Regions from separate parts of the Homo sapiens genome. Here all the other regions are linked to region 1. Evidence: promoter capture Hi-C in 16 types of primary human blood cells and fetal thymus (Javierre and others, 2016). All regions are on one chromosome and are shown on one strand. The core of a region is centred on a gene start or on the middle of the fragment in contact, and the rest is flanking DNA. Distances in the headings are between cores, read along the strand shown.

Region 1 (2,700 bases), core at 23-2,522:
AAATGACAACCACACAACTTTACAGGTTACAAAATATTTTCCCACACATTTAATTTGATTCTTCCACTACCCCCTTTCACCCTTAACAGACAAACTAGGCTCATCAGTGGTGTCCAGGGACTTCTGGCCACCTAGAAAGCTTTTCCCACAACCTTCAAGGCTCTACTCAATTTTCCCACGAAGGGTTCCCATCAACCCAACAGTGTTTTTTCCCCCCTTGCAAGAAAACCTAACTCTGGCTTCTAAACCTTAATGCTTGCTCCTCCCTCTGCTTTGTATTTCCAATTCCTTGGGGGCAGGGATCATTTATTATTCATCATTGTATCTCATGCAGTCGGAGCTAATAAATGTTGGTGAAAGTGTGTATGTCTGCATGTTGCGGGAAAGGGAGGAAAAAAAAATAGTGCTTGATATTTAAAGGCCTGTTATGGGACAGGGGCTGTGCTAGGAACTTTCGTTCAACAAATATGTAGGCAATGGATATGTAAAGATGAAAAGGTACATGGTCCTTGCTCTCAAGGAGCTCGGACTGCTGCGAGGGAGAAAGAACATACAAAATTATAATACACTGTGCTAAGTGCACCGATGAGATAGGCACAGAACATTACCCCACAGGCAAATCAGCATTGGGGCACTGGAGAATGCTGCCAGCAGGAGGCAGTGCTTGAGCTGAGTCTGAGAAACGGACTGGGGTTGGCCAAACAAAGATGGTGGAAATGGGAGTGCTGTATTCTTGACAGAAGGGGTGCGATCAGCCAAAGCAAGGGAGGAGAAAGCAGAATACAGCCTCCTGGGGAAACGCAGGTCATGCCGCTGCGGGAACATGAATTGCTGGACTGGGAGTGCGGGTAGGAGGCCAAAGGTCAGCACACGCAGCCCAAGGAGAGCTCGGCTGCCGCCGGGCCCAGCGCTCAGAAATCACCAGGTGGACGGCAGCGCAGCCTACTGAGGCGGGGCGACGGCAGCAGGCCGCAGCTCTGGGGGTGGCGGCGGCTGTCCTGAGCCCCGGAACTGAGAGACGGCAAGCCGCTGGCAGTGCCTCCACTCACTCCCGGGCCCCGCTTCTCCCGCGCTCTTCAACAAGTACCCCTGAGGCCCACCCCTCTGCCGCCACGGGACCTGCTACTGGCCTTGGTCGTCGCACCAGCCTTCTTAGGCATCTCGGCGCAAAGAAGCCGAGCGGAGCCCCGAGTATTGGGTGTTGCCCGAAGGTGCCTCAGCCCGCTGCGGAGCCGCAGCATCCCCGCCTGGGAAGGCGCCGGAAGAGCCCTCTGCGCTTGCGCAGGTAGCCGGCAGGAGCGGCCCCACCGCCCGGCGCATCCGCTCTGGCCAGAGGGCGACACCTTAAGGCCGGCGGGAGCGAGTCTCGTGGCCGCAGAACATGCGCGAGTCTCTTTTGTTCTGGAACGGGCCGAGCCCCAGGAAGTGGAGCTGCGGAGCTGAGGCCTCACCGTGTCTTGGCCCACCCTGCTCAGCTGATAGGAAGGTGTGTCACCTCTTTCCTAATCGGGGAAAGAAAGGTATTGTCACTTCTCAGAATTGGAGAGCGCGGCAAGGAGTGCACAGGGCCAGGTGTCTTCTCGCTCCCACAGCCAAGCAGCAGATGCAGAGTCCCACGCGCTGCCTGTGGCCATCAAGTCGATATAGAGCCTCGTGGCGGCTTGGCCCTTGTGAATCTTCCACGTATCGATGGCGCACCTACCTTGTGCCAGGCGCAGCGGATCCCACAATGTAAAAGAAGAGGAAATACACTGCGACATGTGATATGGAGAGACATGAAACAAATCAGCAGAGGCAAGATCATGGAGTCACTGAAGGCTTTCAAGCAAGGGATTATTAGCAGCCCAATTTGCTGGGTTTTAGAAAGACACCGGCTGCACTGTGGCCGACAGAGGAAAAGCCAGAGACAGGGAGATCCGCCCCCTAAATGGGAGAGGGTGGCCTGAACTAGAGTAACCGCAGGGAGGGTGGAGCGCTGATCATTTCAAGGATCTTCAGGAACTGAAATGATCAGAACTTGGGAATGACTGCATGTGCGAATAAGGGGGAAAAGTCAAGGAAATGCCCAGGTTTGGGGCCCAAGGAACAGGTTTGGGAGGCCGAGGTGAGGAGTTCAGCTTTGGACATAATGAGTTTGAGATGCCCACAGGACATCCAAATACAAATGTTAAAGGGGTAACTGAATATATGTGACTGGAGTTTGCGAAATCAAGGCTGGTGATAGAGATTCTGGAATCTTCTGAAAGCAGATGGCAATTGAAGCTATGGAAATGGATGAGAGAGTGTGTAAAGAGCACGAGGGCCCAGGTTAGAACAGCAAGGGCAGGTAGAGAAGTCACCAAAGGACACTGACCAGGTAGGAGTACGGTGTAACGGCAGCTAAAGAAGGGCGCTTCAAGAGGGAACATCAACAGTGATGAACACTCTGGAGAGAACATGTCACATGTAACGACTGAGAAGTGGCCACAAGATTTAGAAATCAGGGTGGTGGTGGTGACCCGGGCTACAGCAGTTTTAGTGGAGAGAAGGAAATGGAGATAATTGTAGAGAATAATCCAGTGACTTCACTGTGAAGGAGCAATTGGTATCTGGAGGGGCACATGACATTCAGAGACTTATTTTTATCATATTTGAAGATTGGTAGGAAAGAGCCAGGAGAAGAGAGGTTACAGCAGAGGACGGTTCCTGAAGAGGTAGGAT
Region 2 (2,768 bases), core at 247-2,746, 570 kb after region 1:
AAACATCTCCCCCAAATGCACAGTTGTAAAACCAAATGCCTCCTTTGCTGACATATAGCAAGTTTTATTTCTTCTTGTGCTGTCATCATGGAGGAAGGTCATATGAAAAGTCAGCATTGCTCCTCCACCTGGCCAACCACAGACACATATGTGGTCCTGAGTAGTAAGTGGGTGAAATGTGTAAAACACACTTATTCTGAAATGTTGCAGTTCTCTATGCAACAAAATAGTTTTCTAAATGCCATCTTGTTACTCAGCTGCTGTTTGATACAGAACTGTAAATCTAAACTTAAATTATGTGGATGATGGAAAGTTAAGAGTCCAAGGTTTAGGAAGCCTTTCATAGTCTCAGCTATGCTCTGTGTCGCTCAGAAATCAGGGGTCAGGGGCCTGTTCATTTGACATACGGCTGACTTTCAGGTGTTCATGTAGAGGTACAGAGGGATTAGGGACCAGCCCAAAGTCACAGAGCAAAGAGAGAGATGTTTCTGACTCTCTGGGTCTTGTGTGCTCTTTTCACTGAGTCATGGAAGTTAGAAGCAGTGCTTCCTGCTAAAATGAATAGTGCGAGCTATCCCCATGCTTCAGTGGGATGATCAGTTTCTACATACACTTTCGATGCCTGGTATCTGATTTCCGAGGATTATAGCCATAAACTCTCCAGGGACCCCTCCCTTGTCCTGTATAGCTATCCCACTCAGCACTGTTTCTGACACGGGGTCTCTCTGCTTGGACACAAACTGTGATGGGAAACCTACTGCTACGCAAGGCAGCCTGTTCCATGAGTGGACAGTTCTAACTGTTATATTTTGTTAAAGCGGTTATAATATTGTTTAGAAATTTTACTGTTTCAGAGGTTGTCTGTGAATCTCTCTCCTTTGCATTCATTAACAGCGTTTTACGCAACTTATTTCTTGATTGTTTGGGAACTTTACGGAGATCCGTTAATATTCTAAGGGATTGTAGAAGTTTGTGATTTTATAGTCTACTACTTAGTCAGGAGTTGACAATAGTACCAAAAGAAATGTTCCTACTGTGTTTTGTTTGGTTAACCTGGTTAGAAATTATCTGGACATTAAGAAGGCTGAAGTGAGGGATCGTATAAAGAACGTTGGAAAATAATATCTGAGCATGGCTACTGCATCATTACATTCCATAAAGACACTCATTCATTCTATCACCGATCTGTCCATTCATTCATTCATTCCACAAATATTCCTGGAGCACCTGAAGTGAGGGGAGCCTCCATCAGGTGCTGAGGTGCTCCCAACAGCAGTGTAAGGTGGGTTCCTGCCCTCTGGAATCTAGGCCGAGAAAAAGCAATGACCATTTTAATAGAAATAATTTTTTGTGCCAGGTTTTGAATGTAGCACCTCTCTGAGGGACTCCATTCTCTTTTTTTAGCATCACCTGAAAAAGCTGGAAGGCCGCCGCCTGGATTACGATTATAAAAAGAAACGAGTAGGTAAGATACCAGACGAAGAAGTCAGACAAGCGGTAGAAAAATTTGAAGAGTCAAAGGAGTTGGCTGAAAGAAGCATGTTTAACTTTTTAGAAAATGATGTAAGTATTTAAACCAAATAGGAGATTTTAATGTAAATGAATGAAACATTGAATATATGACTATGATCGGCATGTTGAAAAACTCTAAAGCAGGAGTGTCCAATCTTTTGGCTTCCCTGGGCCACACATAAAATACACTAATACTAATAATAGCTGATGAGCTTAAAAAAAAAATCATAATTTTTTTTTTTTTTGAGACGCTGTCTCGCTCTGTCACCAGGCTGGAGTGCAGTGTCTCGGCTCACTACAACCTCCGTCTCCTTGGTTCAAGTGATTCTCATGCCTCAGCCTTCTGAGTAGCTAGGATTACAGCCACGCACCACCACACTCGGCTAATTTTTGTATTTTTAGTAGAGATAGGGTTTCACCATGTTGGCCAGGAGGGTCTCGATCTCCTGATCTCATGATCTGCCTGCCTGGGCCTCTCAAAGTGCTGGGATTAAAGGTGTGAGCCACCACCCCCGTCCAATCTCATAATGTTTTAAGAAAGTTTATGAGTTTGTGTTGGGCCACATTCAGAGCCATCCTGGGCCACATGTGGCTTGTGGGCCACAGGTTGGACAAACTTGCTCTAAAGCCTTAGTTGTTATGCAAGTTTCTAGAATTTTCTCCTATCTCCTGCCTGAGAGATTGATTGCTTCAGACATCCAGCAAGCCCTGACTCACATCTTTTTTTGGAGACAGGGTCTCACTCTGTTGCCCAGGCTGGAGTGCAGTGGCACGATTGTGACTCACTGCAGCCTCGACCTCCCAGGCTCAAGCGATCTTCCCACCTCAGCCTCCTGGATAGCTGGGATCACAGGCATGCCACCAAACCCTGATAATTTTTTGTCAAGATGGGAGTTTCGCCATGTTGCCCAGGCTGATCATGAACCCTTGGGCTCAAGCCACCTACCCGACTCAGCCTCCCAAAGTGCTGGGATTACAGGTGTGAGCCACCACGCCAGCCCCTGACTCAATATCTTAAATCTTGAGGAGTCCTGTTTATCCCAGGATTGCTTCAGAGGTTGTCTCTGAAGATTGCTAAGTAGACTGGCTTTTGTATGTGAGGCCATAGGATTTATGGTTTCACAGGAGAATGAAAAGTCGAGGTCATGTAGTAATTTGCCATTTTGCTGAGACTGAAAAGTACTTGGCAAGGCAGATGGTTAAGGGAGAACAGCTCTCTTATCTGGGGGGCGGACAGCCGCTGTCATCCCCCAGCT
Region 3 (2,700 bases), core at 43-2,542, 750 kb before region 1:
TACCAGGTCAAAAGTGTCAAATGTTCCTCAACAATGTCAATGAAAAACAAAACAAAAAAGTTTCCTAGTCAAGAGAATCAAAAATTGTCTATATTGCTAGTAATTGTTTAAATTAATAACTTTATATTTTTAGAGCACCTTTAAGTTTACAGAAAAATTGACTGAAGGTTCCCACATACTCTCTCCTCCCACCCACACAGTTTCCCCTATTATATCTATCTTGTATTAGCATATGGTGTGATACCTTTGTTACAACTGATGAACCAATATTGATGCATTATGATTAATTAAAGTCCATAGTTTACATTAGGGTTCACTCTTTGTATTTGTTAGCTGGGTTAATCTTTTCCAAAAACAAACTTCTGGCTTCACTGATCCTTTCTATAAAATGTCTGTTTACTATTTCATTAATTTATGCTTTACTATTTCCTTTCATCTACTTACTTCAGTTTTGTACTTTCTCTAAATTCTCAAGTGGGGAAAATATAAGCATTTCATTATTTCACTCAACCTAGTTTTCTTCAGCCTCCTCTAGATAGTATCTTGGGCCAGCTTCCCTCCCAACCCACACATCAATTCCCAAATCGATCTTCAAGTCTATTGGGTCTACCCTGTGGATTCAATTTTGCTTCTCCGTCTCCTCTTCTCTCTATTCTCTGTCACCTGATAAACCCTATTGATCATATCCTAAATTCATTATGGAAACGAATATATCTTTATTTTTCTACTGCCAAGTAAATTATTCCAAGCCCTTTCAACTCATAGCTACAAATAAAGATCTCTTTAATTTTATTTCCTCAAACGCTATTTTCAGGCTAGGTGTGGTGACTCACACCTGTAATTCCAGCACTTTGGGAAGTCAAGGCAGGAGGATTGCTTGAGCCCAGGAGTTCAAGATCAGCCTAGGGAACATGGCAAAACCCTGTCTCTACAAAAAATTAGCCAGGTGTGGTGGTGTGCACCTGTAGTCCCAGGTACCCAAGAGGCTGAGGTGGGAGGATCACCTGAGCCCAACAGGGCGAGGTTGCAGTGAGCCGTGCATGATCACACCACTGCACTCTAGCCTGGGCAACAGAGTGAGATCCTGTCTCAAAAACAAAAACCAAAAAACCCACTATTTTCATCACAATCCTCAGGCACAAGCAGCTTTCCTTTGATACTTAGGTTAACTTTTAAGGTCTTCTATAATCTTATTCTCCCTGCCAGTATGTTTTCTCTGTCACTAGTCTCTAGGCAAACACTCCACTCAAATAGAGCACAACACACAAATTAGCCTTTATCCGTCTTATTTCCCACTACCTGGTAGCTTTTCTGTCTTCTCCTCAAACCACTCAACTCATTCACCTACAAAGAATCTCTTGCGCTGTGAAATCTTCCACAATGGTGTATCATTTGCTTGCTGCAAAAACTCACTTTTGCACTTAGGATAAAGCAATACAAAGCAATACAGAAGTAACTATTTTTCTCCTCAGCATTTTTATCTTGCAAAATGGATTGGCAGCTTTTAGACGCAAGAATTATGTTTTATACCCTTTTGGATGGCTGAAGAACACAGAAAATGGTTCATCACATTGTTGATAGCTAATACTGAAATGCAACAAGTATTTATAAAATAATAACATACCTTGCCTGCTAGGCGGCTGGAGATGATTCCATTGCTAGATATAAGACAGTCAGCCAGAGTAGTTTTTCCTGTTAAAATAGCAACATCAATTCAAATCTATATCTTTTTTAAAAGGGGTCATGGATCATACCTATAGATTTAAAATCTGGTCATAAGAATTGGTTTAGTAAAGATTTTCTATTTACCTATGCTAGGTGACAAAAGAGATTTATTAGACTTTTGAACAGAATATCATCTGGAAGGACACAGAGGCTAGCACTCTATAATGCTGTAATCTTATCTCCAACCCTGTGGATCTACTCAACCTCATCTGAAAAGTTGTCAAGTAACTTTAGAGAACATACTCTTTTGCCATATTTCCCCATGCATGGCCTCAGCTGGAATTTGCTAAACTGTCTTAAGAAAATACTTACTTATCAAAGAAATTCAGGAACATTATCCATATCTCTTACTGTTTGTAATATAGCATGTGGAGGGCATAAACATACTGTAACAACCAATGAAACCTAGTATCCAAATCTAAACCTAGGAATCTACTTTAAAGCAAAAGAATCTTCGAATATATTTATAGTTACTTTTATTAAGCAGACTACATACAACTAAAGTCTATGAGATTTTATGTGATATAAACAGGTGATTCTGTGTAAAGAATGTCAGGGGTATGCATAATTACTACAACTGGGTTGGAGTAAGCAAAGGAGGGTTTTTTTCCTTCAAGACAAGTCTTTATTGCACTTTAGGAACTTCAGCAAAGCTATGGAATCTCTGTATTGTTCAAACCAGAGACCAATGAGTAGGAGAACTGAAGATATTTAACACTGCTATCTGTCTGCAATGTAAATATGTATTAGCATATAATCCTAGAGCATCACTTTCCTGCTACCCAGTAAAGCTGAATTTATTCTAAGTACACCAAGTATATACCTCCCTAGAAAATAATTATCAAGCAAGCAGGAACTTTGCTTTATTCACAGCAGTATCCCTAGGACCAGAACAACGCTTGTCATATAGAAGACCTTCAGAAAATACTTGTTGAATGGATGAATCCCAGGTTTTTTAGGATAGTAGCAGCTTAA
Region 4 (2,840 bases), core at 206-2,705, 730 kb before region 1:
TCCATGCTAGAAGTGGTAAAAATATCCATTTAAGTTGGAGCCAGAAAAATCTCATAATAAGTCAAAAATTCATTTTTATTTTTAAAATATAGAAAGTTAAAATAGTAAAGTGGAATAATACAAATGCCATTTATTAATACAAAAGAAGGCAAGAAATAAGGGGTATGGGAACAAAGAAGGGAAAAGTCAAAAGCAAATAGCAATACAATCAACTTAAGCCCAGCTAGATCATTGCATTAAGTGTAAATGAACAAAATATTGTGATTAAAATTCAAAGATTGATTTTTCACACATTAAAAAGATATTATTTTAAAAAATATGCCAATAATTTACAACTTACATAAAATGGATAAATTTTTTGAAAAATACAATTTACCAAAAGTAACCCAAGAAGAAATAAAAAGTCAAAATAGCCCTATATCTATAAAGGAAATTGAATTTGTAGAATTGAAGGTGTAATTTTAAACCTCACCATAAAGAAATCCAGAATATTCAGATTCTGTGTAGGATGCAGAAGGCTAGAAAGATTATGTTGCCAACATAACAATAAGAAAAAGCCAGATAATCTACAAAATCATAAATGTTTATGAATCCTTTAGAAAGCTGAGATCACAGGTTAACCAATTAGCCTGACATCTGAGGAGAAACAACTTCCACCCAGTTGAGACAGGAGGCAAGCACTGTTTCACCCAAAGCAGGGCATGGAATGAAGACTAGCTGTTACACAAGTGAATAAAATAATTCATTACATCTTTAATTGCTAAAGACTTGAGTATGAGCTACTGCGAGAGTATAGAAGCTCTGAGAACTTCAGACACTAAAGGGAGAGTTCAAAACCACTCATAGACTCTTCCCTATGGATGTTCACTGTGTGATCATGAGAAAGATTGGGAGAAAGGCTGGAGACCACAGAAAGTTTCCTTCATAGTGCGGGCATGGAGAGAAAAATGGTTGTTTTTGCAAAAGAAAAAAAAAAGCAGGAAGCTCCATTTGAATGCCTCTAACCTACAGAGCAAAAGCATTAATCCACTGCAGGAAAGGCACCACTCTGACAACCCCAAGGAATAGGTGAAGATGTATTGCAACTTGATGAAAGACAAAGGAAAAACAAGAAGAAGAAGCAAAATAAAACCAAACCTTGAACATGAAGAAAGAACAGGAAACTGTCTTGGGACCAACAATTAGAGACCTACTACATCAAGTGAAAGGGCAGGTGCTCTGAGAGAGCCCTGCTTCTGAGACCCAGGGGCACAGGGCCTGCCTAAGATTGAAGCTGGACTGGGACAACAGAGAAACCACCACACACCCGCTTTCCATTTCTCAAACACAAGATCCTAAGCTTCAAATATACAAAGCAGCAAGAATTTATAGTACTAACATAAGAAATGTGAAAATATGCATTTGTAGTTGGAGACTTCAACACTGTCTCTAAGTAATCTATAGAACGTAGACAGGAAATGAATATGGATATAAAGACCTGAACGACACTATCAACAATGTTGTCCAAATTGACATTTGTAAAGCACTTCTGTCAACAATAACAGAATATACATTCTTTTCAAGTGCACTTGAAAGCTTCATCCAGATAAACTATATTCAGAGTCATAAAAAAAACCTTAACAAATATAAAAGACTTGCAGTCGTGCAATGTGTGTTTTTGATCATAACAGAATTAAATTAGACATCAATAATAGAAAAAAATGTGGAAAATCTCCAAATATTTGGAAATTAAACAGCAAAATCCTAAATAACTAATGGCTTTAAGCAAAAGTAACAAAAGAAATTAGAAAATATTTTGAATTTAATGAAAATGAAAATATAGTACATCAAAATCTGAGAGATGCATCTAAAGCAATGCTTTTCAGAAAATTTATAGCATTTAAGGTTCATATTAGAAAAGAAAGTCTTAAATCAATAGTCTAAACCTTCATTGCATGAAACTAGAAAAATAAGAGCAAATTAAATCCAAAGCAAAGCAGAAGGAAATAAATGAGGATAACAGCAGCAATCAATAAATTTGAAAACAGAAAAATAATAGAGAAAAACAATGAAACCAAAAATTGGTTCTATTAAAAGATAATGAAGTTAATAAATGAAAAGAGAGAAGACACCAATTACAAATATCAAGAATGAAAGAGAATAGACCTTATAGACGTTTATTTTACATTGTGGCCTCTTCTTTTTTCTTTTTCTTATTTTTGACAATTTTATCAGGTTGCCATTCATTCCATATTTGCTTCAAGAAGGAAGACATTAATATTTAGAAGGTAATATCAACAGTATTTGAAAACCACTTGAAAAGGAGAGAAGGAAATGAGGGAGAGAAAGTCAATTAAACAGAACCTTAGCCTGAGATGCCAAATTCATAATAGAAACTTTGTTGATGTGTTATTTTCTGGGGAATGTGAGTCTGAGTGAGATAATTAATTGGGGCATGCTAAGTTTTCATTTATCTGAGGGACATCCAAATAAAGATGTCTAGTAGGTGGATAAATATGTGGGTTGGTGTTTGAAGGGAGGTCTGAAGTAGGGATTCAAGTTTGGGAGTCACCACCTTACAGGTAGTATTAAAACCATGGGAGTAGATTGGTGATATGTAGATTGAAAAAGCTGAGGCCGAGGATGATGTCCCCTTACTTTCTAAAAGTAGTTTCCAATTCCTCGGTACCACAAGACACCACAGGGAGCAGTCCCAAGTACCAGGAAAAAGAACTAGCATAAGCAACTCAAGACTTTTGTCCTCAAAGAAGAACCTAGAACAGCTCACTATATTAAAATGGGGTTGGAGCTGTGTATACAAATAGTGGGCAAGTGCATGCAGGCACTTCTTGGACTTAAAC

What was found. The method cuts DNA at HindIII sites, captures the fragments that hold promoters and counts their contacts. A CHiCAGO score of 5 or more calls a contact.
Region 2: a fragment that was not itself captured here is called in contact with the fragment with the promoter of C15orf40 in region 1 in 2 of 17 cell types (megakaryocytes and fetal thymus); the score reaches 6.8 in megakaryocytes.
Region 3: a fragment that was not itself captured here is called in contact with the fragment with the promoter of C15orf40 in region 1 in 1 of 17 cell types (activated CD4 T cells); the score reaches 6.1 in activated CD4 T cells.
Region 4: a contact is called between a fragment that was not itself captured here and the fragment with the promoter of C15orf40 in region 1, in 2 of 17 cell types (total CD8 T cells and naive CD4 T cells). The highest score is 7.2, in total CD8 T cells.

The regions. Positions count from the first base shown.
Region 1 is chr15:83,010,367-83,013,066 of GRCh38, forward strand. It overlaps C15orf40 (chromosome 15 open reading frame 40), which reads right to left and starts at 1,273. Exons shown (of 4, transcript NM_144597.3): 1 at 1,131-1,273. The coding sequence starts at 1,241. It overlaps LOC124903542 (a long non-coding RNA gene), which reads left to right and starts at 1,375. Exons shown (of 2, transcript XR_007064742.1): 1 at 1,375-2,693. RefSeq lists an enhancer at 1,451-1,510. The HindIII fragment of the contact is 2,628 bases long and covers 138-2,700 here.
Region 2 is chr15:83,575,179-83,577,946 of GRCh38, forward strand. SH3GL3 (SH3 domain containing GRB2 like 3, endophilin A3) reads left to right here. Exons shown (of 9, transcript NM_003027.5): 6 at 1,405-1,563. Among named protein-coding and RNA genes, the nearest start is that of ADAMTSL3, 78 kb to the right of the region's middle. The HindIII fragment of the contact is 8,892 bases long and covers 1-2,768 here.
Region 3 is chr15:82,257,464-82,260,163 of GRCh38, forward strand. EFL1 (elongation factor like GTPase 1) reads right to left here. Exons shown (of 20, transcript NM_024580.6): 3 at 1,625-1,692. Among named protein-coding and RNA genes, the nearest start is that of EFL1, 3.9 kb to the right of the region's middle. The HindIII fragment of the contact is 6,257 bases long and covers 1-2,700 here.
Region 4 is chr15:82,277,054-82,279,893 of GRCh38, forward strand. All of the region lies in intron 3 of SAXO2 (stabilizer of axonemal microtubules 2), which reads left to right. Among named protein-coding and RNA genes, the nearest start is that of SAXO2, 16 kb to the left of the region's middle. The HindIII fragment of the contact is 236 bases long and covers 1,338-1,573 here.